Regions from separate parts of the Homo sapiens genome. Here region 1 is linked to region 2. The links are contacts of gene promoters, found by promoter capture Hi-C in human tissues and cell types (Jung and others, 2019). All regions are on one chromosome and are shown on one strand. The core of a region is centred on a gene start or on the middle of the fragment in contact, and the rest is flanking DNA. Distances in the headings are between cores, read along the strand shown.

The links. Contacts are between HindIII fragments. The study calls those that stand out against the background at their distance.
Region 1: a contact is called between a fragment that was not itself captured here and the fragment with the promoter of GPR158 in region 2, in 1 of the 25 tissues and cell types used here (dorsolateral prefrontal cortex).

What each region holds. Positions count from the first base shown.
Region 1 is chr10:25,003,138-25,007,380 of GRCh38, forward strand. All of the region lies in intron 1 of ENKUR (enkurin, TRPC channel interacting protein), which reads right to left. It also overlaps a transcript of THNSL1 not described here. Among named protein-coding and RNA genes, the nearest start is that of ENKUR, 11 kb to the right of the region's middle. The HindIII fragment of the contact is 8,073 bases long and covers 1-4,243 here.
Region 2 is chr10:25,172,893-25,177,471 of GRCh38, forward strand. GPR158 (G protein-coupled receptor 158) reads left to right here and starts at 2,109. Exons shown (of 11, transcript NM_020752.3): 1 at 2,109-3,430. The coding sequence starts at 2,529. GPR158-AS1 (GPR158 antisense RNA 1) reads right to left here and starts at 3,384. Exons shown (of 2, transcript NR_027333.2): 1 at 2,784-3,384. The HindIII fragment of the contact is 11,687 bases long and covers 1-4,579 here.

The DNA.
Region 1 (4,243 bases), core at 589-3,088, 170 kb before region 2:
AAATTCAATTTCAGTGTTTCTTTAATTAATTAATTAATTAATTAATTTATTTATTTATTCATTTATTTTTTGCCCGCTCTGTTGCCCAGGCTGGAGTGCAGTGGTGTTGCCCAGGCTGGAGTGCAGTGGTGTGATCTTAGCTCACTGTAACCTCTGTCTCCTGGGTTCAAATGATTCTCATGCCTCTGCCTCCTGAGTAGCTGGGACTACAGGCATGCACCGCCATGCCTGGCTAATTTTTGTATTTTTAGTAGAGACAGGGTTTTACCACGTTGGCCAGGCTGGTCTGGAAATCCTGGCCTCAAGTGATCCACCTGCCTTGGCCTTCCAAAGTGCTGGGATAACAGATGTGAGCCACTGCGCCAAGCCTGTGTTTCTATTTCTGTAAGAATTGCAACTAGATTTTTAAAACTTAATATAGTGTGATATCTTAATACACATAAATCTTATTCTTTCTGTTAAATAGCTGCATTTTACTCCATTTTCTGAATGGTGTGGTTTTATTACAAAGATCTAGTGGTGACTTTATTAGATAATTGGCTCTATTTTCTTTTAAGTTCAGGGATACATGTGCAGATTTGTTATATAGGTAAACATGCATTACGGGGGTTTGTTGTACAGATTATTTCATCACCCAGGTATTAAACCTAGTACTCATTACTTGTTTTTCCTGATCCTCTCCCTCCTTCCACCCCCAGCCTCCGATAGGCCCCAGGGTGTGTTGTTCCCCTCCATGTGTTCATGTGTTATCACCATTTAGCTCTCACTTTAAGTGAGAATTTAGCAGTATTTTGGTTTCATGTTCCTGTGTTAGTTTGCTAAGGATAATGGCCTCCAGCCAGTATTACTGCAGCACTATTGTGTGGGACTCTGAACTCTGGAGACTAGGCTGTGTTAGAAAGTTATCCAAATTATTTATTGGATAATTTTTACATGTACACATCCATGTCCCTGCAAAGAATACGATCTCATTCTTGTTTTATGGCTGAATAGTATCCCATGGTGTATATGTATCACCTTTTCTTTATCCAGTCTATCACTGATGGGCATTTAGGTTGATTCCATGTCTTTGCTACTGTGAATAGTGCTGCAATGAACCTAGGCATGCATGTGTCTTTATAATAGAACAATTTCTATTCCTTTGGGTATATATCCAGTTATGGGATTGCTGGGTTGAATGGTATTCCCATCTTTAGGTCTTTGAGGAATTGCCACACTGTCTTCCACAATGGTTGAACTAATTTACACTCCCATCAGCAGTGAGTAAGTGTTCCTTTTTCTCCACAACCTCACCAGTATCTTTTGAATAATGGCCATTCTGATTGGTGTGAGATGGTATCTCATTGTAGTTTTGATTTGCATTTCTCTAATGATCAGTGATGTTAAGCTTTTCTTCATATGCTTGTTGGTCACATGTATGTCTTCTTTTGAGAAGTGTCTGTTCATTTCCTTTGCCAACTTTTTAATAGCATTATTTGTTTTGTTCTTGTAAATTTGTTTAAGTTTCTTATAGATGCTGGATATTAGACCTTTGTCAGATGCATAGTTTGCAAAAATTTTCTCCCATTCTGTAGGTTGTTTACTCTGTTGATGGTTTCTTTTCCTGTGCAGAAGCTCTTTACTTTAATTAGATCCCATATGTCAATTTTTGCTTTTGTTGCCACTGCTTTTGGCATCTTCATCATTAAATCTTTGCCCGTGCCTATGTCCTGAATGGTATTGCCTAGGTTGTCTTCCAGGATTTTTATAGTTTTGGGTTTTACGTTTAAGTCTTTAATCCATCTTGAGTTAATTTTTGTATATGGTGAGAGGAATGGGTCCAGTTTCATTCTTCTGCATATGGCTAGCCAGTTCTCCCAGCACCATTTATTGAATATGAAGTCCTTCCCATTGCTTGTGTTTGTCGGGTTTGTCAAGGATCAGATACTTGTAAGTGGGCAGTCTTATTTCTGGGTTCTCTATTCTGTTCTATTGATCTCTGTGTCTGTTCTTGTACCAGTACCATGCTGTTTTGGTTACTGCAGCCCTGTAGTATAGTTTGAAGTCAGGCAGTGTCATGGATAATTGGCTCTATTTTCTATTTATTATTAGAATTATGAGATATGGGCTAAAGATAAGTTATTCTCAAACTAAAATTGTCATCTTCAGAAAACATACCAAAACTATATTTTACCATACAGTTAAGATTAGACTTACTAATCACCATATAGTAAGTCCCATCATTAAGACAGTAAATTTACATTTTAAAAACCATTTATTTCAAAGGGCACACAAGGAAATGATATTACTCAAAAAGCTGGGATAGTTTGAAAGTGCTTAATTGAGATTTTTTTTTCCTCTAATGGGCAAAATAGGCATCAAGGATTAACAACTTTTCTTTTTCAATTTTTCCCAGTATTACTGCAGCATTACACTATCGTGTGGAACTCTGAACTCTGGAGCCTAGGCTGTGTTAGAAAGCTATCCAAATTATTTCTTGAGGAGAATTTTTACACGTACACAGATATCCCTTAAGTCCACCTACAGACTTGAAATGAGAGTGTTCAATTCAGGCTCATGTCTATATCAAGTAACTAAATTTTCAAAAATGGATGCCAATTCTTCCCCCAGCCTGGTTGTCTGTCATAGCTCTGATCTGCACTTACTTGACAACACAGGCATATGTCATTGAGTATAATGATGATCTTAGTGCTGCTCAGTACCTCTCACAAGCTGTTGAGTGAAATAATATGTGGAATATCAAAAGAGTATGTAGTTAATGTATTCATCTACATCTGTGCTGTGTAATATAGCCACATGTGGATATTGAGCACTTGAAATGTGGCTGGTGCCACATGCGGAAATCATAGTATTTTAGATAAATTGCATTAAATAAACTACATAAAGTAAATTTTTCGTTATTTCTACTTTTTAAAAGTGATTAGAAAAATTTAAATTACATACATGACTCTCATTACATTTCTATTAGACTGTGCTGATCTAGATAGCAGGAAAATCTATCCTTGAATTAAACTATGCAGTCAGATAGCTGCACACCCAGAGCACAACACATTGCTGTCTCCAAAACTGCTTTTGTTTAGTTATGTTATCGTACTGGAACACTGGTCTATAATGAGGGCAACAGTAGACTTATGAAACTCAGCAGATTTAATGTAGAAGTGCGGCTGAAATCTTTATTGTATTACACACATGGTCTCCTCTCTCCGTGAATCCTGGAGGAAGTGTATTTGTGGCAGCACACCGAGAACATTTGTGCTCCTCTGTGACTACTGCTTTGCTTTTGTCTTTGGACAATATGACTTAGAGTGTAATTGATTTTTAAAGAAGCATGGGAAGGATCTTTCTTCCTTGATGGGCTGGCTGCTTAACTAATAGAGTCAAATTTGTTTCAGACTTTAAGCAAACGTGCATGATTGTGAAGCATACATTTCATGTAGGTCCTCATTTGTAGCTCTACCTTACTTTTCTATCATAATTTCCCATTTGCTTTGATAGCCTCATCAAAAAAAACCTCACTGCATTAGAACAAGGTTGTGTATAAACACGAAATAGTATCTGATATATAATAAATTATCAAAAACTAAACAATTATAGATGTTACTGAAGCAAAAAGGACTCAGTTTGTTTTACTGTCTCAGGCTAAAAGAACTGTGCAAACCAATTAAACTTACGAGCTTTGGTATTAGATTTGTGTCTCGATCTCAGCCCTTGTTTTTCCTCATTGCCTCAACTTCTGGGCCTGAGATTTTTCTTCTGTAACAATGGGATAATACTACTTATCCCATAGGATTCTTGTGAAAAAGATCAATAACTGGCACGTTTTAAATTCTAATACATTGAACATATTGCTATTAATAGTATTCTTGTGGTTATGAATATTGGATATCCATCCTGATAAAACGTTTAAAAATTGAAACTGTTTAACCCTTTACTTGATTTTACCTGTGTCCTGGCAGACACAGTCTTATTCTGTAAAAATTTGAGTCATCATGTCTAGACAGTGATTATAACAGACTGACATATTTCCCTGATCTGTAAAAATGAATTCTCATATACAATATATTGTTAGTATTGCTTAAGATATTAAACCTTGTTCTGTAACCGAATAATCTAAAAAATGAGTCTAACGTTCACAAAAGCTCACTTATACATTTCCCTGGCAACTGATTTTAAGGAGTATTGTTGTCATATTTTCTTCTCTCAACATTTTTATGTATATATGAAATGCCAGAGAGGTGTGCTA
Region 2 (4,579 bases), core at 859-3,358:
TTAAAATAAAGCTAGAACCAGAATCCAGGTCTTTTGATTGTGCTTAGTTCATTTGATTACTTACAGAAGGATCTACGAATACAATTATGTCTTCTTTTAAGTTAGATACTAGAGGATTTTAAAGAATTGTTAATAAGTTATATAGGTTTTCTAAAAGGATCAATGAATGAGGAAATTATACTTCGGACTTTAGATGGTTAAGTAAATGGAATACCATAGTTTATACTTTGATACATTAAATAAGCAGAAACTCTTTCTGTTATTATTGCCACCCATACTGTGGCAGAGCACTAAACCGGGATGACCTTTACTTAGCATAGGAGCATACATTGCAAAGAAAAATTTAAACAAAAAGTCGGAAATGAACATGAAATCTACTTGTAAGTAAATATAAATCTAATAACCACTCTTTGCATAACTATAAAAACTCATTTGGAGACCAACCACTGCGGTTTGAAAAACTGGTTGCTGTGTCTTCTTCCAAAAACCCTCATCACTGGTGTGTCAGGCAGACTTCTCTTCTTGGGTGAGGAGATTGATTTTTAAGTTAGCTTCATCATCATGATCTTCCCATTCATTCACTAATTTAGCAACTATTTAGCCAGAGCCTACTATGTGCCAGGTAGTGTTCTGGGTGCTCAAGGTACCTCAGTGACCAATGCAGACAAAGATTTTTGCTCTTTTGGAGCTTACATTCCAGTCCTTAAGTATTTTCTCAATAGGAAGGATGACATGAAATAGTACAGTGAATCTAAGCAGTGCCTGCTTAGAATGCCATGAGGGACATTTTTGTTAGTTGGGAATTAAAGTAAGTTGGATATTTTCTATTTGTGTCTTTCTTGGGGAATTTGAAAATAGAGGTGCATATGGAAAGTGGAGCTAGCTGTGCAAAACACTACTTTTCTGGTACCAGTCTACTTTTGGAGTGTCAGAAGACACTTAAATTCTCTAATAAGCGTCAAAACATCAATTAGATTGTGTTAAGAAATTTACCAATAATTTGGGGGACTTGGCATACTTGCTCAGTTCTTCTTTCTTCTGCTGGGATATCCCAACCTTTAGCTAAATAGAAGTCTTAGTTCTTATCTCTCAATTCCAGGAACTCCCAGTCAGGATGATTTCCCTTCTCACTCAACACAGGCTCCTTCTCATTCTCCCAGAGCTCATGAGTCCTCCCCCTTGCTCTCTCCCTTACACATCTTTACTTGCATACATTTTTACACGTTCCCCTCCATTCTGGCCCCCAAGCAGAGATTCCTTAAATATGACTTTTTTTTCTCTCCTTAAAGCACAGCTGGTAGATTTCTCCATTACTCCCTCAGCTAAGATGAGCCTAGACAAGTATGTTTTAATCATTTCTTTAACTGACAACAAGAAAGATGATTTGATAATTTGCCTAAAATGAGCAGATGCTCAGGAGGACACGTCTCCATCCTATGTCCCTTCTGTCTAATTTCACCTAGAAATGAAAACTACTCCCTTCTCCCTCTTTTCCAGGCAAAAGGCTGATTTAACTAAGCATGCAAGACGCCAACACCCTCCCCCTCAGTACGTCCAAGTTTCCTTCGCTCTGAGCCACCGAATCTCTGCTTCTCCCCCCTCTGCCGCCCACCCTACGCCACCCACGCAGGTTTCCGAGTCATCCGGAACGCGAGTGGGTGCGAGGACTCGGCAGGCTGCCTCCCGCGCCCCCGCCGCCCGCGGGCCGCCTCGGGTTCAGCACTGGACAGCTCCCTCCCCGGCCCCACAAATGGCAGTCGGCTGATTGACAGAGGAGCCGACCAAACAGGGAACAAGACGACTTGCAGCCGCCCTACAAGGGTTTGGTTGCGGCCAAGCTGCCTCTTTAAACTGGCTTTCCTCCCCCGAGGAGGGAGCAGGGAGAGAGGGTGGAGTGTGGTTTGCGGCCAAACCTAAAGGCTGCAATTAACCAGCCGCCCGGCCTTCGCTACTCCGGACAGACGAACGTCTTAAAGGACGTCTTCGCTCCTCGGGAGTCGCGGCTGCGCTCGCGGTGCGGGTCTGGGCGCGCGCCCCGCGCCTCCGGGCGAAGCGGTCGAGGAGGAGCCAGTGCCGGGAGGCGGGAACGACCTGCGGCGGGTGAGACTATGGAGCAGCGTCTTCGGCGGCCGCGGCGGCAGCAGCAGCAGCAGCTTCTGAACGCGCCTCAATGAGAGCGGCGGTGGCGGCAGCCGGGCCGAGAGACGGACTCGGGCTGACTCCAGCCGCTGGGAGCGCGAGGCCATGTAACCCGCTCGGCTCCAGGCTGCGAGGTGCGTAATCCCCAGCCGGCCCCTCGCGCAGCGGGCACGGCCAGCGCTGCCACAGGTGACTTGATTTCTGCGACGGTAGCTTAGCCACCCGGGGCCAATCTCGAAACATTCTTATTTTCAAGTCCTTTGGACTGGGTGCCATCTGGAGAAGGGGGAAGACTCCTCGAAAAAGTCTGACTGTTGAGAAACTGACGATCCAAATTTAAAAAGTGATTCCCCCCCCTCCCGTTCCCTCCTCTTCTCTCTGGGAGGCAGATGGGAGCCATGGCTTACCCCTTACTCCTCTGCCTCCTGCTTGCTCAGCTGGGATTGGGAGCTGTTGGCGCCAGCCGCGACCCCCAAGGACGGCCGGATTCCCCTCGAGAGAGGACCCCGAAGGGGAAGCCGCACGCCCAGCAGCCGGGTCGAGCCTCTGCCTCGGACTCCTCGGCTCCCTGGAGCCGCTCCACCGATGGCACCATCTTGGCGCAGAAACTCGCCGAGGAGGTGCCCATGGACGTGGCCTCTTACCTCTACACCGGGGACTCCCACCAGCTGAAGCGAGCCAACTGCTCCGGCCGCTACGAGTTGGCGGGCCTGCCGGGGAAGTGGCCAGCCCTGGCCAGCGCGCACCCCTCCTTGCACCGGGCGCTGGACACACTGACACACGCCACCAACTTCCTCAACGTGATGCTGCAGAGCAATAAGTCGCGGGAGCAGAACTTGCAGGACGACCTGGATTGGTACCAGGCGCTGGTGTGGAGCCTTCTGGAGGGCGAGCCCAGCATCTCCCGGGCGGCCATCACCTTCAGCACCGATTCGCTGTCCGCACCGGCCCCACAGGTCTTCCTCCAGGCCACGCGCGAGGAGAGCCGCATCCTGCTCCAAGACCTGTCCTCCTCCGCACCCCACCTGGCCAACGCCACTCTGGAGACCGAGTGGTTCCACGGCCTCCGGCGCAAGTGGAGGCCCCACTTACACCGCCGCGGCCCCAATCAGGGGCCCCGGGGCCTGGGCCACAGCTGGCGGCGCAAGGACGGGCTCGGCGGGGACAAGAGCCACTTCAAGTGGTCTCCGCCTTATCTGGAGTGCGAGAACGGGAGTTACAAGCCCGGGTGGCTGGTTACTCTTTCCTCTGCCATCTACGGGTTGCAGCCTAACCTGGTCCCGGAATTCAGGTAGGGAGGGCCGGGGGGCAGGGGGGAAGGCAAAAGCGAAGCTTTCCTTCCGGTCTTGTGGGTGGGTGCACGTGTGAGGAAGGAACCCTTGGCTGTGACGCGAACGCTTCTCACCCTCAGAGTAGAGACCCGGGCTGAGGGACACCCCACGCGGGCGCGGGTGCTTGGGGGCAAGAAGCGCCCCACGCCCGTCAGCTTCCGGCGCTCGGCGAAAGCCATTCATTCTCTCGGACCAGTTTCCCCGCACTGGGCGAGGGACAGGCAGCCCTTGGCAGGACGGAGACACCCCCGCTGCTCTGTGCTTCCCTCCAATTGTCCGGAGAGCAGGGAGGGGCGTTCCCCACCGGGGGGCGATGCGACAACTTGGCGAGCGCCGGGTGTGTCCGCGGAGTGGCAAGCCTCAGATGAGAGGCGAAAAGGGAGCAGGAGGAACAGAGAGTTCCTTGTTTCTGCCACTTTGGGGTAGCCTCTGCCTGCTTCCTACGTGTGCAGTTGGGGGCACCGGTCTGTTGTTAGTCAGAGCTTATAATTAAAACTGTGCCATCTCCTCGCAGTTCCGGCCCCTCAGCAGTGAGTCAGTCCCAGCAGCTAGCTGTCTCTGGGATCCAGACTTTGCAGCTTGGTCAGGGTGCTCCTTCTACCGGTCTCCCCTCTCCCCGCAATTGATCTTTCCTTCCTCGGTGGCCTTTTCCTCCTCTTCCCTGTCTTAGGCATACTTAAGGGTTCTCCAGCCCTTCACACACTCACATGATTTATAAAAGGACCTAGTTATATTCGGGAGGGAGGCATCAGTTGTGACTGAATTCACTCAAGGAGGCTGGAGGAAACTTAAGGGAGTCTGTACTTCCTGTCTCAAACTATAGCATTTGAGGGAAGCAGAGAATTTGCAAATTAACAGGTTTTAACTTCTGCCTGGGAAGTGCCTGACCTTTGAGGCGGGGAATTTCTAGAAGCAACCTTTAAGAGTAGATGTGAGGAAGGAACTGAAAGAGTAGTTACACCAAAGAGGGCTTAGGAGAGGGCCCAAGATGAACTGAGATCTTCCCTTAGTCCCATGAGGGAAGGCTCTGGAAAGAGGGTCTTGGGGGCTGAGGTTGCTTTTGTACTTTTTGGGAACCTGGGCAGGACTGAGAAACCTTTGTGTGTGGA